2 separate regions of the Homo sapiens genome follow, and region 2 is linked to region 1. Evidence: promoter capture Hi-C in human tissues and cell types (Jung and others, 2019). All regions are on one chromosome and are shown on one strand. Each heading gives the region's core, a stretch centred on a gene start or on the middle of the fragment in contact. The rest is flanking DNA. Distances are from core to core; before and after follow the strand shown. Region 1 holds the start of RAPSN (receptor associated protein of the synapse). Region 2 overlaps NUP160 (nucleoporin 160).

Region 1 (6,269 bases), core at 1-2,500:
CATAGCGCAGGGCCTTCTCGAAGCTCTCCAGGGCCTTCTGGAAGACGCTGAGGCCCAGGAAGGCATTGCCCATGCTCAGGCTGACCTGGCCTCCGAGCTGGGCACCTGCCCTGGTACCAGGCAGCCCAAGGCAGGTCTTGCAGTAGGAGATGGTCTTGTGAAACTCGCACAGCTTCTCGTTGCTGCGTGCCAGGTTCAGGTAGCTCTCCAGGAGGAAGTCGGCATCCTCCAGCTCCCGGGCCGTGTCGATCTGGACCACAGCGAACTGCACACAGCGACGGTGGGCAGGTGGTGCTCAGCCTGGACTCTGAGCCTTGGACCCCAGCCTGCACTGCAGGCTCAGACCTGGAGGCCCCACACCCACCCCCCAGCCTCACACCCAAAGCAGCAGATCCCAAAGCTTCTTTTCAGACCCAGAGCTTCTACCCGCCAGCCTCAGCTACCTTCCCTACACCCCAGCCTCACCTCCCAAGCTCAGGCTTGCAGCCTTCACCTTCTATCCCAAGCCTCAGATCTGGAGTCTCCACCACCCACCCACCCCCAGCCGCAACCCTGGAGCCCACACCCCGCCAGGCTCAGACACAGAACACCAGACAGGAAGGCTGAAACCTACAATGGGCTTGAGACCCACAAACCCTCGACCCTGAGGCTGGAGAACCTCAGTCTCAGAGACTCGGGCACCACAGTTCAAGGCCACAGGCCTGAATCTGATGCCAAGACTCAGTATCTAAGACCCAGGGCCTTAGATATAAATTCAGAGCCTCGGGCCCTGGCTGCCAGCCTGTGGGACACAGGGGAGCCCGAGGAGGCCGAGAGGGGACTGGGGAGCCTGGGAGACATCCGGCCCCAGCCTGACCCTCGAACGCCCCCAGGCCGGGTACACCCACCTTCAGCATCTCCTTGTAGCGGCCCATCTCCGAGTGGGCTGTGACCAGGCAGCCCAGCACGCGGAAGCGCCCCATGAGGTCCGAGCTCTTCTCCAGCACCTTTGTCCACACCTGCAATGCCTTCTCTGTCTGGTTGGACTGGTACAGCTGGAGCCCCTTCTCGATCTGCTGCTTGGTCTGGTCCTGCCCCATCCTCCCCAAGCCCTGTGTCCCACGTGGGGTGATCCCTGGTGGCTCCGTGCCTCTAGGCACTCATGGGGCAGGAATCACAGTGCCAGCTGCCCCCCGAAACGTGGGAACAAAAGCAGCGTCGGGTGGGAGCCGGAATGGGGCCTGGATGGAGAGCAGGCGCCACCCTGGGAACAAAGCTGGTTCAGCCCGTCTGCAGCTGTCGCTGCCAGTTGGGGCCACATGGCCTCTGAGGAATGTCAGCAGCAAGGTCACGTGGGCCTCTGCTGCACCCACCCGCGAGCTGGGACGTGGCTTCCCTGAGCATACAGGCACCTTGCCACCTGGGCACCCCCTTGGGCGTCCCTTAGGCACCTCTGACACTGACCCTGACCGCCCTGGCAGCACGGGCCCTCCCAGCAGCCTTGCCAAGGGGCCAGCTCCAGCAAGTGGGCAGGCCTTGGGCTAGAGGTGCTCGGGGGAAGGAGAGCGAGGCTGGACCTGCAGGTCCGGGGAAGCCAGGTGAGCGCCCAGCCCTGCTTCTTCCCCATCAAGACACCCCTGACCGCAGCATCCCCTGGCTCTGTTCCTGAAATTCACTGAGCACCGTGGGTCACTCATCCAGGCCCAGGCTGACACCATTCACCAACTCTCACCTTAGAGAGTCTGGGAAAGACCTCCAGCTGGTGAGAGGCCTGAGCTCTAGCCTGGCTTCCTTCGAACTCTCAGTGGGACCCTAGCCAAGTGACCTGGCACCGTGGACTGAAGAGAGGAATGGTACCTGGCTCACTGGACTGCTATGAGAACTCAATGACGAAAGAGTTGAGAAGGACTTAGGACAGTGCCCGGCACAGGAAACCCCGCATGTGCTGCAAGAGGCTATTTTGCTCCATGGCAAATCCCCACCCGGGCCAGAACCCAGCCCTTGAAGTTTCAATGTCTCACTTCCAATCCCAACCCCGGGCTGAAAGGGTCCTCATAATGAGATTTAACACCAGATACTGTGGAGAAGGGCAAGGTCTTATGTAGTATTGGGGCCCCCGCTAGCAGGCCAGCTCATCCAGCCCCCCTTTCTCCTCTCTCTGCATGCCAGCCTTCTTCCTGCCCCAGGGCAAAAGTTTATCCTTTCTGGCTGGGCAATTCAGTGGTTTTTAGTATATTCACAGAGATGCACATTAATTGCCACTAATTCCAGAACATTTTAACCACCCCAAAAAGGAGACGCACACCCATCAGCAGTTACACCACTCCATTCCCCACCTTGATATGACTGAATCATGTCCCCCCGCAACCAAACGCATATGTTTAAGTCCTAACACTCAGTATCTCATAAGGTGACTGTCTTTGGAGACAGGGTCTTTAAAGGGTGATTAAGGTAAAATGAAGTCACATTGTACCTCATCCAGTTAAGACTGGTATCCCCCCCCCCTTTTTTTTGAGACAGGGTCTCACTCTGTCACCTAGGCTGGAGTGCAGTGGTGCAGTCACAGCTCACTGCAACCTCTACCTCCTAGGCTCAAGTGACCCTCCCACCTCAGTCTCCTGGGTAGCTGAGACCACAGCTGTCTAGTTTTTGTAGAGATGGGTTTCACCATGTTGCCCAGGCTGGTCTTGAACTCCTGGAGGTGGAGGTTTCAGTGAGCCGTGATTGTGCCACTGCACTCCAGCCTGAGCACCAGAGCAAGACCTTGTCTCAAAAAATAAATAAACAATAAATTTTTATTTTTAAAAATTATTTTTGAGACGGAGTTTTGCTCTTGTTGCATAGGCTGGAGTGCAGTGGCACAATCTCAGCTCACTGAGACTTCTACCTCCCGGGTTCAAGCAATTCTCCTGCCTCAGCCTCCCAAGTAGCTGGGATGACAGGTGTATGCCACCACGCCTGGCTAAGTTTTTGTATTTAGTAGAGACGGGGTTTCACCATGTTGGTCAGGCTGGTCTTGAACTTCTGACCTCAGTTGATCCACCTGCCTCAGAGCCTCCCGAAGTATTGGGGTTATAGGCGTGAGCCACCATGCCTGACCACAATACTTTTTTTTTTTTTTGAGACACTTTCCCTCTGTCACCCAGGCTGGAGTGTGGTGGTGCCATCTTGGCTCACTGCAACCTTCACCTCCCAGGTTCAAGTGATTCTCCTGCCTCAGCCTCCTGAGTAGCTGGGATTACAGCTGCGCACCACCACACCTGGCTAATTTTTGTATTTTTAGTAGAGACGGGGTTTCACCATGTTGGTCAGGCTGGTCTGGAACTCCTGACTTCATGATCTGCCCACCTCTGCCTCCCAAAGTGTTGGGATTACAGGCGTGAGCCCCCGCACCTGGCCCACAATAAATGTTTAAAAAGGACACAGTCACACAGAAGAAGAGCACGTGAAGACACAGGGAGAAGATGGCTATCTACAAGCCCAGGAGCAAGGCCTTAGAATGAAACCAACTCTGCCAATTCCTTGATCTTGGACTTCTAGCGTCCAGAACTGTGAGAAAATAAATTTCTGTTATTTAAGCCACCTGGTGTCTATGGACCTGTCTATTGTGGACCCTTCACAGGAATGGAATCATACAATATGTGGTCATCTGTGACTGGCTTCTTTAACTTGGCATAATGTTTTCAAGATTCAACTATGTTTTCAACCGTATCAGAACTTCATTACTTATTGTGGTTGGTTAATACTCATTGTCTGGATATACATTTTGTTGATTCAGCAGTTAATAGGCATTTGGGTTGTTTCATTTTTGGCTACTATGAATAATGATGCTATAAAAATTCATGTACAAATTGGGCTGGGCACGGTGGCTCACGCCTGTAATCCCAGCACACTAGGAGGCTGAAGCAGGCAGATCACTTGAGCCCAGGAGTTGGAGACCAGCTTGGGAAACATAGCGAGACCCCATATCTACAAAAAATACAAAAAAAAAAAAAAATTAGCTGGGTGTGGTGGTGCACAGCTGTGGTCCCAGCTACTCGCGAGGCTGAGGCAGGAGAATCGCTTGAGCCTACAAGCTTGGACTGCAGTGAGCCGCAATCATGTCACTACACTCCAGCCTGGGTGACAGAGCGAGACCCTGTTTCAAAAAAATAAAAAATTCATGTACTAGGTTTTATGGGGACATGTTTTCATTTCTCTTAGGTATATGCTTGGAGCAGAAGTGTGAGTAATATGGCAACTGTTACATTCTGGTACCTGCCTACCTGTCTGCCCCAGGGCCTTTGCACCTCCTAATTCCTTCTCTGTTCACCACACCCACACTCTGCCTCGTAAGTCATAATTAGGATGAATCAGCATATTATCCTCTCATTGAATTACACTGCATTCTGATACAGGACTTATCTCTATAATTTTATTTTGAGACAGGGTCTCACTTTGTCGCCCAGGCTGGAGTGCAGTGGTACAATCTAGGCTCACTGAGGCCTCGACCTCCTGGGCTCAAGCCACCCTCCCACCTCAACCCTCGCAAGTAGCTGGCATTACAGGCAATGCCACCATGCCCAGCTAATTTTTATATTTTTAGTAGAGACGGGGTTTCACCATGTTGGCCAGGCTGGTTTTGAACTCCTGTGCTCAAGTGATCCGCTGGCCTGGGCATCCCAAAGTGCTGGGATTACAGGCGTGAGCCACCACGCCCAGCCTCTCTATAATTTTATATTAGTGAGGTTGTTTGCTGAATGTCTTTATTCTTCACTCAAATGAGGTCATATGGCTGGGCCCTAACCCAGGGCAGGACTTTGTCTCCTTCATTACTGACTGTATTCCCAGAGCAAGGCCCGGCACACTGTGGCCCCTCAATAAATGTCAAATATCGGTGAATGGGGAAGAAGCGGAGGAAAGACGGCTTCACCGGGAAATTCAGAGCAACTACACGGCCTGCTTCCTGAGAGCCCAACGGGTCAGAGGGGACGCTCTGGGGGTCAGAAGGCAAATGCCCCAGGCTCAACAGAGGCAGAGTGGGAGCAGGCTCTGGGACAGGTGGCTGGGCAAGGCCACCTGGACTCCCCAAAGGAGTGCTCCTAAGCCTGGGAAAGGGAGGGAGAGCTGGCTGGGGTCTTCTCTCATCTCAGGGAGGCCTGGGTTGATGCTGAGCTGCAGATGGGAGGGAAGCTGGGCCCACAGCGAAGGTGTGAAGGGCCAGCAGATTCTCCCCACTCCAAGGCCCAGACACTATTCACATTGAGTCTCTGGCAGGAAGGAATGGAGGAAGGGCGGCCTGCATCTACACCCCAACAGAGTTGGGGACCACAGCCTTCCTCTTTCCTGGGGAACTCAAATGACCTCAAAACTTGAAAACTTGATGGGATCAAGCTGTCCTTTCCCTGAGACAGGTCTTTGCTCATCTGACTTCAGTGATGGGAATATGCCCATACTCGCTTATTCTAGGTAGCAGAGTACCTTATGTTTCCTTGAAACATTTCATTTCTTCTTTATTATTATTTTTTTTTTTGAGATGGAGTTTTTCACTCTTGTCGCCCAGGCTGGAGTGCCCGTGGTGGTGAGAGGTGAAGCCAGCTGGACTTCCTGGGTGGAGTGGTGACTAGGAGAACTTTTCTGTAGCTAACTAGAGGTTTGTAAAATGCACCAATCAGTGCTCTGTAAAAACACACCAATCGGTGCTCCGTAGCTAGCTGGAGATTTGTAAAATGGACCAATCAGCACCCTGTAAAATGGACCAATCAGTGCTCTGTAAAATGGGCCAATCAGCAGGACATGGGTGGAGACAAATAAAGGAATAAAAGCTGCCTCCCCGACCAGCCCATCCCCACCCCAACAAGCCAGCAGCAGAAACCCGCTTAGGTTCCGTTCCACGCTGTGGGAGCTTTGTTCTTTTGCTCTCCACAATAAATCTTGCTGTTGCTCACTCTTTGGGTCTGCACCACCTTTAATAGCTGTAACACTCACCACAGAGGTTTACGGCTTCATTCTTGAAGTCAGCGGGACCACGAACCCACTAGAAGGAACCAACTGCGGACACAGTGGGATCTCGGCTCACTGCAACCTCTGCCTCCTGGGTTCAAGCAATTCTCCTGCCTCAGCCTCCCAAGAAGCTGGAATTACAGGCGAGCACCACTACACCTGGCTAAGTTTTGCAGTTTTAGTAGAGACGGGGTTCCACCATGTTGGCCAGGCTGGTCTCGAACTTTTGGCCTTAAGTGATCTGCCCGCCTCAGCCTCCCGTGAGCCACCATGCCCGGCCTCAAAAATTTCATTTCTGAGCACGTTTT
Region 2 (6,339 bases), core at 2,149-4,648, 340 kb after region 1:
TGTGTGTATACATGTGCATGCACACAATGGGAACCCTCTTTTCTCCAACTGGGAAACTTGTCATTTTTTTCGGTTAAATATATTTAAAAATTCATGTCGGCTGGGCCTGTAATTCCAACGTTTTGGGAGGCCGAGGTGGGCGGATCACAAGGTCAGGAGTTCGAGACCAGCCTGGCCAATATGGTGAAACCCCGTCTCTACTAAAAATACAAAAATTAGCCAGGTGTGGTGGCACAGATGTAGTCCCAGCTGCTCGGGAGGCTGAGGCTGAAGAATTGCTTGAACCCGGGAGGCGGAGGTTACAGTGAGCCGAGATCATGCCACTGCACTCAAGCCTGGGCGACAGAGCGAGACTCCGTCTTGGAAAAAATAAAAAAATAAAAATAAAAAATAATTTCATGTCAACTTTCTTTTTTTTTTCAGACAGGGTCTCACTCTGTCACTCAGGCTGGAGTGTAGTGGCATGATCATAGCTCACTGTACCCTCAACCTCCAGGGCTCATGTGATCCTCCCACCTCAGCTTCCCACATAGCTGGGACTATAGGCACGCACCACCATGACCAGCTAATTTTTTTCTATTTTTTGTAGATAAAGGTTCTCACTATGTTGCCAAGGCTGGTCTTAACCTCTGGGTTTAAACGATCCTCACACCTTGACCTCCGAAAGTGCTAGGATTACAGGTGTGAGCTATTGCACCTGGCTGATTTCATGAGGGTTGAAGCTGTAGTTAACTACACCTATTTAGACCTGGCTCTTCTATTATATTTGCCATCTGTATGAGCCTGTGATAACCTCTGAGCCTGTTCCCTCATGGGTTAAAAAATAGAAAATTAAAACATTCCTTCATAAGGCTGCTATAAGGATTAAATAAAAAAATGCTTGTAGAGACTTAACACAGTCCCGGCACACACACAATACCATTTTGTTTATCTCTCTCCACTGAATCCTAACTAATGCCATATTATTTTGATAGAGAAAGATGAAATTCCTATTTTATAAACAGGAGACTAGAGATTCCTAGAGTGTCAATATTTAGTTGTATAACTACAGATAGTAAAGGTTAAATACACTAACATATAGTTCAATTTACTCTCAGATTCTCACCTTACATAGCATGATAATAAAAAGAAATGCCTAGGCCGGGCATGGTGGCTCACATGGGTAATCCCAGCACTTTGGGAGGCCGAGGTGGGTGGATCACTTGAGGTTAGGAGTTCCGAGACCAGCCTGGCCAACATGGTGAAGCCCCATCTCTACCAAAAATATTAAAAAATTAGCTGGATGTGGTGGCAGGTGCCTGTAATCCCAGCTACTCAGGAGGCTGAGGCAGGAGAATCACTTGAACCCGGGAGGCGGAGGCTGCAGTGAGGGAGTAAGTGGAGGCTGCATCACTGCACTCCAGCTTGGGCAACAGAGCAAAACTCAGTTAAAAAAAAAAAAAAATATATATATATATATATATATATATATATATATATATATATATATATATATATGCGCCTATACCGATGTTCCTCAACTTATGGTGGGTTTGTTTTCCAATAAACCCACTATCAGTTGAAAATATCATAGGTTGAAAATACATATAATACATCTAACCTAATGAACATCACGGCTTAGCCTAGCCTACTTAACCATGCTCAGGACACTTAACGTTAACCTATAAAGTTGGGCAAAATCATCTAACAGAAAGCCTACTTTATAATACACTGTTGAATATCTTGTGTAATTTATTGAATACTGTACTGCAACTGAAAAACTGAACGGTTGTATGAGTATTTTATTTATTTATTATTTATTTATTTATTTATTTTTGAGATGGAGTCTCGCTCTGTTGCCCAGGCTGGAGTGCAGTGGCATGATCTCGGCTCACTGCAACCTCTGCCTCCCAGGTTCAAGCGATTCTCCTGCCTCAGCCTCCTGAGTAGCTGGGATTACAGGTACGTGCCACTGCATCTGGCTAATTTCTGTATTTTTAGTAGAGACGGGGCTTTGCCATGTTGGCCAAACTGGTTTCGAACTCCTGACCTCAGGTGATCTGTCTGCCTCGGCCTCCCAAAGTGCTGGGATTATAGGCATGAGTCACTGTGCCCGGCCATCAGTATTTTAAAGTATGGTTTCTCATAAATGTTCATCACTTTCAAACCACTGTAAAGTTGAAAAATCGTAAGTCAAACCATTGTAAATTGGGGACCATTTGTATATGCCTACCTCAATTCCGAAGTATTGATGTCCTTTTCCCAATACAGCATCCACATATTCTGACACCAAATCCACAGCTTCTTCTAAAAGGTCATAGTTTAAGTATAAACGAAGCAATTCAGCAGCATCAACCTTCTGTGAAAAGTCAGTGATTAAGAATATGTACCTATTTCCCTCCTACTTGAGTACTGACCAAAGAATGTTGAGTGGCTGATTCCCTAACATTTGTATTTCTCAATATAATTAAACCAGTGGCTTGGTTTACTCATCTGTATCTTAGGATAAGAGCTGATAACAAATCTGGGGAGTTAGGAAAAAAAAAAAGTTAAATCCCTAAGAGCCGTTACCTCTAGGCAGTTTGGGAGGCCCTTATCTGTTAAATAGCCTTCTTCCCCTGTTTTATGACCTAAGACATATTTTAACTTCTCTCCACTTCAGTTTCCACAGTTGTAAAGTCAACAAACTTTTCCTGAACACTAAAGTGACAATATATTCACATAATAAGAAATATATGAATGACAAATGCAAAAGAAGTTCAAAGAATCACCAGCTTTAAATCTGAAGTCTCTATTTGGAAGAGCTCTATTAATTAAGCATGCTTTCTATATTCCCATTTGATCACAATCTTACCTTTACCATCTTAGCTGGCTTCCCTACTTTCCTATTTATTTATTTTTTTTGAGACAGAGTCTTGCTCTGTCGCCCAGGCTTGGGGGCAGTGGTGCAACCTCAGATCACTGTAACCTCTGCCTCCAGAGTAGCTGAGATTACAGGCACGCACCATCACATCCAGATAATTTTTGTATTTTTAGTGGAGATGGGGTTTCACCATGTTGGCCAGGCTGGTCTCGAATTCCTGACCTCAGGTGATCTGCCTGCCTTGGCCTCCCAAAGCGCTGGGTTTACAGGCGTGAGTCACCGTGCCCGGCCTCCTTTCTACCTTAAAAAAAAAACAAAAACAAAAACAAAAAAAACAAAACAAAACAAAACAAAAAAAACCAAAAAAAACTTTCCTGATTTTAAGCTTTAGATTTTCTCTTTCCTTATCCTACTAACGGTGGTTCAGATGCAGAAGTTCTCAAACTTTAGCATGCATCAAAATCAAATTAGGAGCTTCTTAAAATGTAGATTTCTGGCTCCTAGCCTGAGATAATCTGATTCTGTAAGTCTAGGATGAGGAATCTGTATTTTGAAGAAGACTGCCATCTGAATAATTCTGATGCAGACAGTCTAAGAACCCGTTTTTGATTTTTAATAGGTGAAACAGTGGGAGTGGAGAAGGAACCAATCGGAAACTGGTTGTGCTCAATTAGTTGTAAACAACACGGCACTCAGACCAGCCATAGTGTTATATTATTTGAAAAGTACTCCACCGACTCCTGTGACTTTTTTGAGGTATGAAGAGTAAATCCTGTGTCATGCATATGCTCATTGTTCTAAATATAAACTCATTGTTCAGTGAATATAATAGGAGTCATTAACCTAATTACTAACCTATGAAACTTCAAATCTAAATACACAGTAGTACTGTGGAAATGAATTTGAATTGTTCTTATGGTTTTAGCTATGATGAAAAGCTTCCCAAAGTACGTAAGTCAATATGTTCCCATAAGTTATCACCCCATCTTTTTCTTTTTCTTTATATATTTTTAAATTTAAATAGAGATGGGGTCTCCCTGTGTTGCCCAAGCTGGTCTCAAACTCCTGGGCTCAAGCCATCCTCCCCTGTTGGCCTACCAATGTGCGGGCATGACAGGTATGAGCCACTGCAATCAGTCCATATTTTTAATCATCTCATGAAGTTATCCAGAATGATAAAGAGTGGGTTCTTACTCTGTACAAGTTATAATCCGTTTACCTTGTAACTGTTTATAAGCCAATTAGGCAGAGGCACTCCATGAGACAAGAGCTTGTTGATTACACAGTGGTGATACAAGTTATTCTGGACTTTGTACCTCTCCAGGTAAGTGGATAATAGTCGCCATGCTTCATCTGTAGCACTTGAAAAAAACAAAAATGACTAATGAGTTTCAGATTCTTAATAGCTATTTAGAGTACCATTCAAAGCATGTATTTACAAGGAAAACTTTTTTTTCAGACAGGGTCTTGCTCTGTCACCCAGGCTAGAGTGGAGTGGTGTGATCTCAGCTCACTGCAGCCTCAGCCCCAGATTCTCCCATTTCAGCTTCCTAAATAGCTGGGAATACAGGCATGCACCACTATGCCCAGCTAATTTTGTTTATGTTTTGTAGAGACAAGGACTTGCTATGTTGTCCACGCTGGTATTAAACTCCAGAGCTAAAGTGATCCTCTGACCTTGTCCTCCCTAAGTGTTGGGATTACAGGCAGGAGTCACCATGCCCAGCCTTACAAGGAAAACTTTAGAAATTAACAACTGAATCAATAATATAGCTAAATGGGAACAAATATTATTTGGGCTAATGTGACTTATGGGGATAGCACTAGAAACTAGATGTCTTGGGTTCGTATATTCCTCTCCCACTAACGTATTTAGTATTTAGTAAACAAACATATTTAGTAAATGAACGTTATTTGTTTGGCTATTAATGCATAATTCATTTAACTCCTTTGTTTCTGCATTTCTAAAACAAGAAACTGGTTCAGAACACTGGTTCTCAAACCTGATCAAGCATTAGAATCATGCAGAAGTTCTAACTTAGAAGACTAGGGTGATTTCTCATAATCTGTATTTTAATAAGTTATTCTGATGTGCTAATTTAGGGGTTGAAAACTAATGTCAGAGAACTTCCAAATTCTAAAGTGCTATCACTCTAAAGTGCTAAGCTGTATAATACCAAGTGCAAATGCAGTTCAGAAAGGGAAGTTTACTGAGGGTTAGGAATGTTAGAGAAGGTTTCTGAAGAAGCTGAAGTATATTTACGTGGACACAAAGTGGGTGCACTGGGGAAGTATACGAACCAGAGGAGATCTGAAGAAGGTATAGTGGATGATGGGGGCTGATGGGTGACAGACTGCTGAACAGCAGCTGGAGACAAGATATAAGAGGACACTGTGATGAAACCATGCAGTGACTGCTCAGTGGAAGAAATGGGGGAAAAAAGGAGGATAACACTCCGAAACAAGTAAATACAGATTTTTGCCTGTAAGAGTACCCTTTCCTGATATGAAACAGTAAGTCTTTGAGGAGGGGGATATGGAGAAGGAGACATTTCATAGGCAAAGACATCCTAGTTTGGACAATAAATGACATGATGTCACCTTAATTATAAACTTTCCAGCCCCTATAAAAACTTAGCCAAAAAGAAAGAAAAAAGTGAAATGATCTATGTAGGACAATTTAGTCAGAGAAAGACAGTTACAGCTTTTAGAAAGGCAAAACTACCCAGGGTTGAACACCAGGGTTGTACCTAGACTCCTTAGTAGTGATGACAGATGAGAGCTGATTGGCTGCTAGCCAGGCCCAGGCTTCTGCTTGTGCTGCCTCTCCTCCAAATTGCAATTTGATGCATCTGGAATGAAAATGGTTCCACACTTGAAAACTGAACGCTGAAACGTACCACTTTAATTTGATACTAAAACTAGAGAGATAGATGACAACTTCATCTCTAGTCTTTTGCTGAATTCACTACTGGAATATTGGCTCATCTCTTCCTCAAGTTACACAACTGGATACCTACAAGAACATGAGTAAGCATTAAGAGACAATTTACTTCCAAGATAAAATTAATGATGAAAAATTCTTTTTTCTTTTCTTTTTTTTTGAGATGGAGTCTTGCTCTGTCACCCAGGCTGCAGTGCAGTGGTGCAATCTCAGCTCACTGCAACCTCTGCCTCCCAGGTTCAAGTGATTCTCCTGTCTCAGCCTCCTGAGTAGCTGGGACTACAGGCCCATGCCACCATGCCTGGCTAATTTTTTGTATATTTAGTAGAGACGGGGTTTCACTGTGTTAGCCAGGATGGTCTTGATCTCCTGACCTCATGATCCGCCCGCCTAGGTCTCCCAAAGTCCTGGGATAACAGGTATGAGCCACCGCACCTGGCCTCTTTTTTTTTTTAAATTAAGATGGAGTCTCGCTCTGTTGCCCAGGCTGGAGTGCAGTGGCGCAATCTCAACTCATTGTAACCTCCGTCTCCCAGGCTCAAGCGATTCTCCT

The links. Contacts are between HindIII fragments. The study calls those that stand out against the background at their distance.
Region 2: a contact is called between a fragment that was not itself captured here and the fragment with the promoter of RAPSN in region 1, in 1 of the 25 tissues and cell types used here (small bowel).

Annotation. Positions count from the first base shown.
Region 1 is chr11:47,447,886-47,454,154 of GRCh38, forward strand. RAPSN (receptor associated protein of the synapse) reads right to left here and starts at 1,251. Exons shown (of 8, transcript NM_005055.5): 1 at 888-1,251; 2 at 1-265. The coding sequence starts at 1,079. The HindIII fragment of the contact is 7,804 bases long and covers 1-5,732 here.
Region 2 is chr11:47,780,861-47,787,199 of GRCh38, forward strand. NUP160 (nucleoporin 160) reads right to left here. Exons shown (of 36, transcript NM_015231.3): 32 at 5,593-5,694; 33 at 4,062-4,203; 34 at 2,213-2,338. Among named protein-coding and RNA genes, the nearest start is that of FNBP4, 17 kb to the left of the region's middle. The HindIII fragment of the contact is 4,341 bases long and covers 1,229-5,569 here.